Regions from separate parts of the Homo sapiens genome. Here region 2 is linked to region 1. The links are contacts of gene promoters, found by promoter capture Hi-C in blood cells and fetal thymus (Javierre and others, 2016). All regions are on one chromosome and are shown on one strand. Each heading gives the region's core, a stretch centred on a gene start or on the middle of the fragment in contact. The rest is flanking DNA. Distances are from core to core; before and after follow the strand shown. Region 1 holds the start of C2orf81 (chromosome 2 open reading frame 81). Region 2 overlaps SLC4A5 (solute carrier family 4 member 5).

Region 1 (5,855 bases), core at 2,553-5,052:
GGACGCAGCAGGTGCAGGGTGCGGCTAAGCAGGACATTAGCCTTGTCCAGGAGGGCACATGTGTATGAGTGGGTGGACGGGGGGAGGAGGGGGTAGGGATGGGAAGAGGCCAGGGGAAAAGTCCTCTCCACTCAGCCCATAGGGACCTGCAGCGGCTGGTGTGTTGTGTAGTGTGGTGGTGAAGGTGCAGGTGGAAGATGAGGGTGGTGGCTGGAGGCGGTGGTGATGGTGGGTGTAGGGAAGGGGTGGGGGGTGGGAGGTGGGGGGTTGGGAGCAGATCAAAGCTGTCCAGTCCCAGAAGGAAGCTGCTCCTCCAGTGAGGACTCCTGCGAGATGCCCTTCTCTTCCTCCTTCTCCAGTTTTTTGGGTCTTCCCCTTGGTTTCCTTCCCAGAGTTGTGGTGGTTTTCCCGGTCTTGGCAGCACCCTTGTTTTTGCTTCCCTTTGGTCGGCCCCGAGGTCTCTTAGGTGTTGGCACTTCGCTGAGCTCCTTCTGACTCCCTACCAGCGCTGTCCTGGGACTCACCGGAGGCTGCTTGCGCGGCCTGCCACGGCCCCGCTTCTCAGTGCCGTCCTTTTTCTGCTTGGAGGCCAAGGGCTGGCTGGACTTCGAGCTCGACTCGCTCATCTTCCCTTCTCTAAGGACTAGTTGGAAAAGTGATGGCTGGGATGGGCGAACTCGGCCGCTGGCCTGCGGTGCATGCTCCGGTTTGCCGGGAGCAGCGGTGCTGGGCGCTGAGGACAGGCCAGTCTCCACCGCAGCCGCCCCTGGTCGCAAATGCGGATGCCTTCCTGGAGCCGCGCCAGCGCCAGAAATAGCCCAGGCTCGGAGTCCCACTTAGAAGAGCACAGCCCCGGCTCAGGGGAGCTTAAAAAGTTCTCTACATTTTTTTTTTTTAACCAACTATTCTTATCTCCATTTTATGGTAATTTACCCAGTATCATACAAGTAGGATGTAGTGAAGTCAGAATGCATTCACATGCAAGTCTGTCTGACTCCAGAGCCTCTCAAAGACATTTGCAACAAATATGAAAAAAGATAAATATCCCCGAGTAAATTAAAAGCTCATATAAAAAAAAAAATGGCCGGGCGCAGTGGCTCACGCCTGTAATCCCAGCACTTTGGGAGGCCGAGGTGGGTGGATCATTTGAGGTCAGGAGTTCGAGACCAGCCTAGCCAACATGGTGAAACCCCGTCTCTACTAATAATACAAAAATTAGCCAGGCATGGTGGTGGGCGCCTGTAATTCCAGCTACTAGGGAGGCTGAGGCACGAGAATCACTTGAACCCGGGAGGCAGAGTTTGCAGTGAGCTGAGATCATGCTACTGAACTCCAGCCTGGGTGACAGAGCGAGACTCTGTCTCAAAAAAGAAAAAAAAAACTAATAAAATAAAAAATAGAAGAAGAAAAATGGCCAGGCACAGTGGCGCACACCCACAGTACCAGCTGCTCGGGAGGCTGAGGCAGGGGGATTGCTTGAGCCCAGGAGTTCAAGTCCAGCTTGGGCTATATTGCAATAAAAATTTAAACTATAAGAAGAAAAACCATTTAAGATCCCAAAGATAAGCAAAGGACATGACATTTCACAAGAGAGGGACTGTAGATGACTAATAAATATAGTATTGACATTCTGATTTCTAGTTCATCAAATTGGAATTATTTTAAAAACAAGAATACTCAGCATTGGCAAAGGTTTAGTGTGATACCATGCTGCAACAGTATGCATGAAGACATTAAAAAATGTTTTCACTTCCTCAACCCTGCAATTTCAGTTCTATAAATACAACCAAAAGGCATTTTCTGAAATGAAGATAAAAATATATTCTCCAACAAATTCTCTGCGGTATTTTTATAATAGCAGAATATTGAAAACATGTCTTTAAAAAGAGAATAAATAATTGACATGCTATATATACTGAAATATTATGCAATGATTAAAGGTAATCTTTTTTTGTTTGTTTGTTTTTGTTTTTGAGACGGAATCTCGCTCTGTCACCCAGGCTGGAGTGCAGTGGCAAGATCTCGGCTCACTGCAACCTCTGCCTCCCAGGTTCAAGCAATTCTCCTGCCTCAGCCTCCGGAGTAGCTGGGATTACAGGCGCCTGCCACCAGGCCTGGCTAATTTTTTTTCTATTTTTAGTAGAGATGGGGTTTCGCCATGTTGGCCAGACTGGTCTTGAACTGGCCTCAAGTGATCTGCCCACCTTGCAGGCATGAGCCACCAACCCAGCCATTAAAGGTAATCTTTAGAAAGAATTTGCAATGGCATAAAGCAAATGTTTATGATGTAACGTTAATTGAAAGAAGCAGGATACAAACTTACACATCAATTATGATCTCATATATGTAAACCACTATGTGTTCAACAAAAGGAAAACTTCAAAATGATAACAGAGGATACGTTTCCTTCCTATGCTCTTTTCTATTTTGTAAGTTCTCTACAATGAGTTTGTTTCCTTTTGTAATCACTTAAAAAAAAAAAAAGACTAGTCCCCAAAACTCACTTTAGAGACATAAAAAGTTTACAAACAATCTCTTGGGAGCTCCCTCAATTCCCCACAACAGTCTCCCTGAACCTGGTTCCTTCCAAAATGTACTTCCAAATGTGATCTTCCCAAACCTTTGCCTATTGCCCCGCTAAAACCTTGTCTCATATCTGTTTCCTAAAATTCATTATCCCCCCAAATCTGCTGTTTCCTAAGTCTTGCAGAACTCAAAATCCCTGAAGTCTCATTAACCCTATCCACCAGTGAGAACAGCCCTGTAGCAAGCACCAGGAGTGGCCCATAGCCCAGGCCAAGCTTGACTAGAGCAGGGCTGACTGGACTGAGTAAAGAGAGTTGTTTCCTTAGACCTCCCCTCCCAGCCTCGCATCTGACACCCGTGATGGTGACCAGAAGGGACAGAGATATTTTTGCACAAAGGCTCTTCAAATCCGTTTTCTTTCTTCTTCTTCTTTTTTTTTTTTTTTTTTTTTTTTTTTTGAGACAGTCTCTCTCTGTCACCCAGGCTAGAGCGCAGTGGCGCGATCTCGGCTCACTGCAACCTCCGCCTCCCGAGTTCAAGCAATTCTCCTGCCTCTGCCTCCCGAGTAGCTGGGATTACAGGCACCGCGCCACCACATCCAGCTAATTTTTTGTATTTTAGTCGAGACGGGGTCTCGCCATGTTGGCCTGGCTGGTCTTGAACTCCTGAGCTCAGGCAATCCTCCCGCCTCAGCCTCTCAAAGTGCTGGGATTACAGGCATGAGCCATTGAGACCGGCCCCGTTTTCTTTATTTTAAAATTGATTGGCTCTTAAACAATTTGACTTTCAAGTGCAGTCTCTGAATTATTTAATATATTTCTTCCTCTTGAAATTCTCGAAATAGATTTTTTCTGTTATCTTCCCTCTCTAAATGCTCATCCATTTAAATACGCACCACCATGTAAGAGACTTACTACATTCATTAGCTGTTTCAAAATCCACTTCCTGTTCTCGGGCTCTACACCACCCACTGACCCTTTCCCTCATGGCTTGAGTGTAACAAAGCGTTTGAGTGGGCACCGTGCAGGTGTAGGTTTTCTGCCCGAGTACCGACGTGGCTTCCTTGGTCATCTAAACTCCCGCGCGGTGGGCGGGAGCAAGTAGGGGCACTGGGCGGCCCAGAGCCAGCCCACTGTTCCCGACACCGACCTTAACGGCCGACCCTGGCTCTGGCGCATCCCCAGCTGAACTGAAGCTCACCGAGCCTTCGTGCGCCATCGCCAACGCGGTCGCAGCAACGCTGGTGTTTCTGCTGCATCCGGGCCGCGTAAGCCACCTAACAGTCGCCTGGGCAACCACGGGCTCGGGGTCGCTCGCCCCGCCCACAGTTGCCCCGGCAACCGCGCCGCCCGCGGCACGTTCCGGCCGCTCACCCCGCCCAAGGGCCGTGCGTACGTGCGTCGTCTCTATGGTGGCGGCGGATTTGGAGGGACCCTACGAACCAGGAGTCAGGCGAGCCGATCTGGGGCTGCAGGTGTTACCTCTGATCTAGGCCGGGGGCTTCAGGGATCCGAGCCGAGGGAGAAAGCCTTGGGGGCTTCATCACACTTATTTGGCTCGCGGGCTTGGGGCCATCGGGTGGTCCTGTGTCATCCCCATTCCTCCTCTGCGATTCCCCCGTCGCCCCAAAACAGCCCTGGGACTCCCCTGTCTTGCTCCTCGAGACCCTCCCCCATCACCGTCCTCTGGGCACCCCATCCTATGACCCAGTCTCAGGCATCTTCCGAAATGCTCGATGATAGCCGCCCTCGGGCATCTCCGCTGCGTCTGTTTGTAGCGCGCCTGGTGATTCGGCTGCACCCCCACACAGGATGTTCCGCTGGGAGCGCTCCATTCCCCTGCGAGGCTCGGCCGCCGCCCTGTGCAACAACCTCAGTGTGCTGCAGCTGCCGGCTCGCAACCTCACGTATTTTGGCGTGGTTCATGGACCAAGCGCCCAGCTTCTCAGCGCTGCTCCTGAGGGTGTGCCCTTGGCCCAGCGCCAGCTCCACGCTAAGGAGGGTGCTGGAGTGAGTCCCCCACTTATCACTCAGGTGAGGCATGGAGCTGGGAGTGATGTTGCTGAACCCAGTCCTACCCCCAGCCTTTTCTCTCCAAACCTTCAGGAGCAGGCATGTCCTAACCTCAGAATCTCCCCAGGCATGTCCTAACCTCAGAATCTCCCCTCTCCTGCCGGGCGCGGTGGCTCACGCCTGTAATCCCAACACTTTGGGAGGCTGAGACGGGCACTTGAGGCCAGGAGTTCGAGACCAGCCTGGCCAACATGGTGAAACCTCTTCTCTACTAAGAATACAAAAAAAATTAACCGGGTGTGGTGGCGTGCACCTGTAATCCCAGCTACTTGGGTGGCTGAGGCAGGAGAATCGCTTGAACCCAGGAGGCTGAGGTTGCAGTGAGCCGAGATGGCGCCACTGCACTCCAGCCTGGGCCACAGAGCAAGACTCCGTCCCCCAAAAAAAAAAAAAAAACAAACAAACTCATCTTCCCTGCTTTGATTTTCTCCCTACACTGATGCACCTCCCTCCAGGTCCACTGGTGTGTCCTCCCCTTCCGAGTGCTGCTGGTACTCACCTCACATCGAGGAATACAGGTAAGAAGAGGACTCTCCTGCTTGCCCCACCAGAGCCTTCTCAGCTTCCCTGCCAGGCTTCCAGACTTTCCCACTTGCCTCTAAACACTTCCAGACTTTTCACATGCTTGGCCCACTCACTCTTTTTCTATTTCTTATCTTCAATCTTTCCATCTTTTCCAGTTTCCAAGTGCCACCTCCAGTATCTGCCCCTTTACTAGCTGTATGTCCTTACACTATTAACTTCTCACTCTCACTGTTGTCCTCTGAAAAAATTAGGATAAAAATAGTACCTACATCCCAGATTTGTTTTGAGGATTAAATGGGCTAAGGCTAACACGGATATGTGAAGTACTCAGCAGAGGTCAGTTGGGTTATGCCCCCTGGTTCTTGCCCCGGTCTTCCAGATGTACGAGTCCAATGGCTACACCATGGTCTACTGGCATGCACTGGACTCTGGAGATGCCTCCCCAGGTACCTGCAGGACCAAGTGGGGTGGGGGCAGGGAGTGTTTGCTAGGGCTGCAGGAGGGGATATTTCTGATCATTCTCCCCTTTCATATTCAGTACAGGCTGTGTTTGCCCGGGGAATTGCTGCCAGTGGCCACTTCATCTGTGTGGGTGAGGGAGCCAAGTGCAGGGCATGGAGGGGTGCTGGGGCATGTGGGCTGTGGCCAGGAGAATAATGAGGGCCTGAGGAAATTGTGGAAAGTTAGAGGGAAGGGTGGAAGTGGAGTGGAATCAGAGACTCCAGTAAACCA
Region 2 (6,538 bases), core at 1,887-4,386, 170 kb before region 1:
TGGAAGCTGAGATCCAAAAAATGAGCAGAGAATTGGCCAGGGGAATAGGGTTAAGTGGAGTGATAAGAAACAGTGTCCCAGGAAGAGGGAATAGTGTCTAAAAGGTCTGGAGCTGAAAAACAGCATGTACTTGAAGAACCAAAAGATGATCAGGATTGATGGAAAACAGAATGTAGAATGGTTGGGGAGGGTAGGAATGCTGAGAAAGAGAATGCTGGGAGATGAGGCGTGAGAGCCAGGTAGGGCCATGTGGTGAGGGCCACATGGGGCAGCTGGGACTTATGAGTCAAGGATAATGCTTAGTTTCCGGTGTAGACAGCTGGGTGAACCACGGTATCACCTGCTGTGCTGGGGAAGGGCAGGGAGCAGCACGTCAGGAGGGAAGATAAGGGACGCAATGTCAGCTGTGTGAACTGGGGGATCCTGAGGGGCAGCCATGGGGAATCCTGAGGGGCAGCCATGTGGACATGCCCAAAAGGCAGCTTGACAAATGGGTCTTCTCCTTGGGGTACTGAGCTTTCCAATGGCTCTACTTTGAAGGCCTCCATTGGAGAAGACCCTTGCCTAGGAGATTGGCAGGTGTCTGCTGAGCTGTTTTCCCCAGGGAGGCCTGAGTTGTTGTCATGGCAACAGCTTACCATCCTTCTAAAAATGTCTTAACTCCAAACTAAGAATTCAAGGTTAGTTTTTAAAAAGTGTGGGGAGAAGGCCACAATTAGCACTCCATTAATTGTGCTGATTAAATTCACTCCAGCATCAGTGGGAAAAGTACCAAATAACACAGCAGATGATTCCCCTTAACGGTTTGACCTATTTAAATAATCATTAAGTTTGGTCTTTAGTAATGAGATTTAGCTTCAGATCTTTTAATATTGTCTTATTATATTATTATTACTTGAAGCGTAAAGGATTACAAATAGTGATGGCCTCAACCTGGATGGTAGATGAAACCTTGGTTTTGGGATTACAGGATGAAGCTTCCTGCTGCCACCAGGTGGCGGCAGATCTTACTTTTACACTCAGGGCACCGGCTCGCACACACCTGATAATTGTCGGTGGCATCCCCCAGAAGCCCACCAAAGGTGATCGCGTTGGTGATACAGCCGAGGTAGATGAATAGGATGGCAGAGATGGACTGAATGTGGAAGCCATCATAGAAGTCACTTGGGAACCAGGGCAACTTCCTCTTGATATCCAGACACAGGCCACCGAAGAACCTGCTCAAGACAGGCCCAGGGGCTGCTTTCTCACCACTAACACCAGTGCAGGGGCAGGGCTATTTACAAGAACTTGCAGAGTCTGGGGCGAGGAAAGGAACTTGACCAGGGTGGATGGGGCAAAGATCTTTCCACCAGAACATTTAGGGCCAGGGATGAATTCCTGTAGGACTGAGTTTGTGGTTGGCACCACCCACATTGGGAAGGGTGGACATAGAGGGTTTTGGAGAGGGAAAGTCTGATGGGAATATGTCCTGGGGTAGACCTAACATTCCATGGAGAATGGAAGTCCTGGGGTCCACAGATGGTGGTCCTCCTCACATCCCTGACCATCTGCAGGGTGCCTGCTCTTGGTGAACACAGGAGTGTCTAACTTTCGGTGACAGAAGCATCCCAGATTATAACAGATTCATTAAGAACAGATCCTAAACCTTATAACTGGTTGGTATTTGTTTGTTTTTTGATTTTGCTATCTGGAACAGCTGAGTGGAAGATTTTAGGTTTGGAGACACTGTTTACTGGGATTGCTATTCCCATAGCCCCTAATGCAGTCCTTAGCATGGAGCAGAGTTTCTCAACCTCAGTTCTGCTGATATTTTGGACTGGATACTCCTTTGCTGCAGGGGCTGTCCCATGCACTGCAGGATGTTTAGCAGCTACCTACTAGATGCGAGTAGCATCTCCCCTCTCCGGTTGTGACAAGCAAAAATGTCTCTGGACATTGCCAAATTCCCTGGGCTCGGGGGTAGGGGGACTAAGGAGGGCCAAAGCTGCTTACAGTGAGAACCACTGGTATAAAGCCAAGGGCATATAAAACATGACTTCATTCTCAAAGTCATGATTTATATGTAGATTTTCAAGGCCACATCCTTTCCTAAATCTAGATCAACCTGAATGACTCCAAGAGCTGGAAAAGAAACCCAGGCCAGGAGAACTTTCTCTTATTTTCTTTAAAAAAAAAAAAAGTTTTTGAATAGGTAAATTAAGTTTTAAAAAAGGTACTGTTATTGAGTTGTGTCCCCCCAAAAGATATATTAAGGTCCTAACATCTATGTAACACCTATGCAAATGTAATCCAGTTTAGATTAAGTCATTATGGTGGGCCCTATTCCAACATGACTGGGGTCCATACACAAAGAGGAAAGTGCTCTGTGAAGACAGACACACAGGAGGCCATGTGGTGGAGAGGCAGAGCCGGGGGTGATGCGGCTGCCAGCCAGGAACACCAAGGACTGCTGGCCACCACCAGAAGCCAGGAGGAGGCCAGGAAGGATTCCACCTGGAGCCTCAGGGAGCACGGTGGTCCTGCCAACACCTGCTGTGGAACTCCTGGCCTCCAGAACTGCAGGAGAGTAACCTTCTGTGGTTTTAAGCCACCTAGTTTGTGGTACTTTGTTACAGCAGACCCAGGAAACAGGCACCAAAGGATATCTAAGAGAAAAGTTTGGGTTCCTCTCCTCTTGTATGGGTCTCAAATTCCCCTCTCCTGAGGCAACCTTTTGGGGATCCATGATGGGGTTCAAGGGCTCTGGGAGGGAAAGAAGGCAGGGGTGACCTCGAGTGGGCACTACAGACCATGGTTGGGAAAAGTCCCTAGAGGGCAGCTGAGAAGGGAGAAGTCTAAAGGACAGCAGGGTCACTGGGAGGCCTGGGGTGGGCACCTTCCTGTCCAGATAAGTTCCTCCCCGATTTCATGCATGGCTGGCATCTCTCCATCATCCCCGCTGCTTGTTCCGCCGGCCCCGCCACTGCCAGCCCCGCCGCCACTGCCACCACCACCACCACCTCCATTGCCTCCTCCAGGAGCTCCGCCGCCTCCTCCCACAGAGCCATTCATCTGGCCCAGCTCTGCTAGGGAGAACACAGATTTCCTGGAAGAGAAGGGGGATGAAGGAGAGTGGGTCCCCCAGAGCACCCCTCACCTCTCCAACCAAAATTATGAAATATCTTAAAAGACAGACAAAAATGCAGAAAATTGTCTAACAATATCCACACGCAGGTCACCTAGATTTTACAAATGTTCACATTTAGCCATATTTGTTTCTGATATATCTTATTATTTTTAAACTTATTTTAAACATTATTTTGAGACAGGGTCAAACTCTGTTGCCCAGGCTGGAGTACAGTGGCATGATCACAGCTCACTGCAGCCTTGACCTCCTGGGCTCAATCAATCCTCCTGCCTCAGCCTCCAGAGTAGCAGGGACTATAGGTGCATGCCACCATGCCCAGTTAATTTGATTTTTGTTTTGTAGAGACAAGATCTCACTATGTTGCCCAGGCTGGTTTCAAACTCCTGGGCTCAAGTGATCCACCTGCCTCAGCATCCCAAAGTGTTGAGATTACAGGCATGAGCCACTATGCTGAGCCTCAGATGTATTTTAAAGAGAAATAAAATGATACCGACAGAGTTGAAGCCTCCTTTTTCTCTCCCTACTGCCCATTCTCATACACACCTCTTGTCAGCAGAGGGCACCTTCTTGGGGGGCTCAATCCGGATATTTGGGTCCCATTCTCCAGGAGGAAGGACGATGACCTCATCCAGAAATTCATCAATTCCTGCGATCAGATCTTCCCGATTGCGGGCTTTGTAGGCCACGTCACTGAAGAGCTGGCGAGGAGAGAGGAGGGAGAAAAGAAAGATCGGGTCTGTTTCTGAAATGCCTGGGAGCATATCACATCTAGTTTTTAAAGGAATCCCTTTGAACCACATCTCCCACTGCCAACTCACTCTCAGTTTTTGGAATGAGACTATAGTACATTGGTAAAATATGGCACAATGGGACACAGCAGGCACTGGGGGAAGACAGCCTCTCTTGGATCTGAAGGCCAGGTCTCCATATTCTTGCTTGTAGGACTTCGGTTAAGTTACTTAACCTTTCTGTTTTCAGTTTTCCACACATCATACATATTAGAAAACCTTTGTAGAGCCCAGTCCAAGGAGCTCAGATATTTCATAACCATTTTTTACTTCCAGCCCTTCGCCCTTGGAGGCTCAGGCCGTGTTCTTCACACTGTCTCCAGAGTGTGCTTTCTGACTTACAGATTCGATGGGACTATGCTCACATTTAACCCTTTCCCATTTAGGCAAAAAAAAAAAGTGCAGCTCACTGCCAGCACTCATTTAATTTTACATAAACACACTCTTTGAGGCCGAAGCAAATCTGACTGATTTTCAATGTGAAAATGCAATATAAAAATTATTCTTAGAATTATTTCTAAAAAGAACTAACATTGGAATCATTGGAATGATCAGAATCATCTATTTTGGAAACACTGGATTCATCAAATGAATCTTAGGCCAAAAACTGTTCGAGAATGATGTTAGCATCACTCGTAGGAATGCTAGTTTTCTAGGATTTGATATTTTCAATGATTGAGAGTTAGTGTATTTTGTAAATGGAAATGCCACAACTAAAAACAGAATGCTTTAAGTAGAATGATGTCTTTTGTTTCCAAAGTCAACATATAAGAGCAATGCAAAAATAATAATAAAAGTGAGACATTTCGTGGGGAAAAGTTATCTCAGGGTAAAGCCTGCAGCCGCAAGCACCGCCAGTGAGTATTCTTGGCACAAACGGAAAAAGAGTTAAAGTCCTCTAGGCTCCCCATCACTCTGGGGACAGAGTGTGACTCAGCTCTGCTTACAGGCTCTGTGTAGTCTCTGGCTCACCTCTCCAGTATTACCTCCTGCCCTTGAAGCTCTTACACTGAGCCTATATCAAACCACCTCCATCCAGCTTCTCTGAGCCTGATCCATTTCCTTTGTTTGGAATGCTTGCCTCACAGCCTGGTGCTGGGTCTACCTTCCTCCTGCTCCTCCTTAGCTTTAAAGCCCCCTCATCTGTGAAGCCCTCCTTGACCCCCTGGGCAGCTAGCACATGGTTAGTTTTACAATTATCAATCTGTCCCTCACACTTGATTGGTTCTCCTAAAGGACAATGACTATTCCCTGATTCTCATAATCTTTAGCATCCTATGTAGTGCCTGGTACACAGTAGGTGCTCAAATGTGCTGGCTGGATAAGTTAATGAATGAAGGTGCAGTGCTTGGTGCAGGAGCTGTAAAATTCAGGAGTACAAGCTTCTGGTTACCACTTACATCATCTACCATGAGGGTTGCAATGGCACGGCCAATTTCATTGTAGGATTTTGCTCTCCCAGAAGGTCCCAGTAGTATAAACAGAAATCTGCAAAGAAGATGGAGGAGGAGACAGAGAAGATTAAGGAAGAGGAGCATGAAAGTGAGAAGGAAAAACAGAAGCAAGTGAAGAGAATTCTCTGGCCCTGAACAGTATGCATTTTTTTTTTTTTTTTGAGACAGGGTCTTGCTCCATCACCCAGGCTGCATGGAGTGCAGTGGCGCAATCTTGGCTCACTGCAACCTCCACCTCCTAGGCTCAAGTGATCCTCCCACCTCAGCCTCCTGAGTAGCTGGGACTACAGGCGTGTACCACCAAGCCCGGCTAATTTTTTGTATTTTCAGTAGATACAGGGTTTCACCATGCTGCCCAGGCTGGTCTCCAACTCCTGGGCTCGAGCAATTCACCCGCCTTGGCCTCCCAGAGTGCTGGGATTAGAGGAATGAGCCACTGCGCTGGGCCCATTCTTAACTTTTTTACTTCCCTCCATGGAACCCTATGTTTGCTTTGGAGGAACATTTCCTCTTCCCCTCCCATGAGGCTCCCCCTTGAGCATCCTCACCTTTGTCTTGCTGCCCAAGCTTACCTGACAACTTCTCTCCTAGTTGTTGCCTCCTTCTCTTTTATTATTTATTATTTTTATTTTTTTTCTGAGACGCAGTCTTGCTCTGTTGCCCAGGCTGGGGTGCAATAGCATGATCTCGGCTCACTGCAACCTCTGCCTCCCGGGTTCAAGTGATTCTCCTGCCTCAGCCTCCCGAGGAGCTGGGATTACAGGCGCGTACCACCACACCTGGCTAATTTTTTTGTATTTTTAGTAGAGACGGGGTTTCACCTTGTTGGCCAGGCTGGTCTCGAACTCCTGACCTCATGATCTGCCCACCTTGGCATCCCAAAGTGCTGGGATTACAGGCGTGAGCCACCGCACCTGGCCTCTTTTGTTATTATTTTTAATAAACTCTAAAACTCTTCCCTAGTCAGAAGATTTCCCTTCCCAGCAGCCTCCACGTTTAGAGGTGCCTTTGAGAACACTAACAGTCAACAGCACTGCTTGCTGACTGCACTGCTGACTGGCTACCTGAGAGTGGCGTGGGGACAGGTTTCAATGGCTCTCACCTGGTGGGGACAGGCACCTCGGTCACTCCTCCCAGCATGGCCGACTGGATGAGGCGCACGAACG

What was found. The method cuts DNA at HindIII sites, captures the fragments that hold promoters and counts their contacts. A CHiCAGO score of 5 or more calls a contact.
Region 2: a fragment that was not itself captured here is called in contact with the fragment with the promoter of C2orf81 in region 1 in 4 of 17 cell types (naive CD4 T cells, total CD8 T cells, naive CD8 T cells and 1 more); the score reaches 6.4 in naive CD4 T cells.

What each region holds. Positions count from the first base shown.
Region 1 is chr2:74,417,817-74,423,671 of GRCh38, forward strand. It overlaps C2orf81 (chromosome 2 open reading frame 81), which reads right to left and starts at 3,803. Exons shown (of 3, transcript NM_001316764.3): 1 at 3,727-3,803. The coding sequence starts at 3,744. It overlaps WDR54 (WD repeat domain 54), which reads left to right and starts at 3,914. Exons shown (of 10, transcript NM_032118.4): 1 at 3,914-4,000; 2 at 4,337-4,559; 3 at 5,054-5,116; 4 at 5,503-5,569; 5 at 5,662-5,715. The coding sequence starts at 4,338. It also overlaps the pseudogene HMGA1P8. RefSeq lists a silencer at 3,734-4,013 and an enhancer at 4,414-4,593. The HindIII fragment of the contact is 12,224 bases long and covers 2,800-5,855 here.
Region 2 is chr2:74,249,301-74,255,838 of GRCh38, forward strand. SLC4A5 (solute carrier family 4 member 5) reads right to left here. Exons shown (of 31, transcript NM_133478.3): 13 at 6,475-6,538; 14 at 5,319-5,406; 15 at 3,674-3,828; 16 at 2,879-3,088; 17 at 1,043-1,217. Among named protein-coding and RNA genes, the nearest start is that of MTHFD2, 54 kb to the left of the region's middle. RefSeq lists enhancers at 1,002-1,171, 1,222-1,281. The HindIII fragment of the contact is 4,323 bases long and covers 976-5,298 here.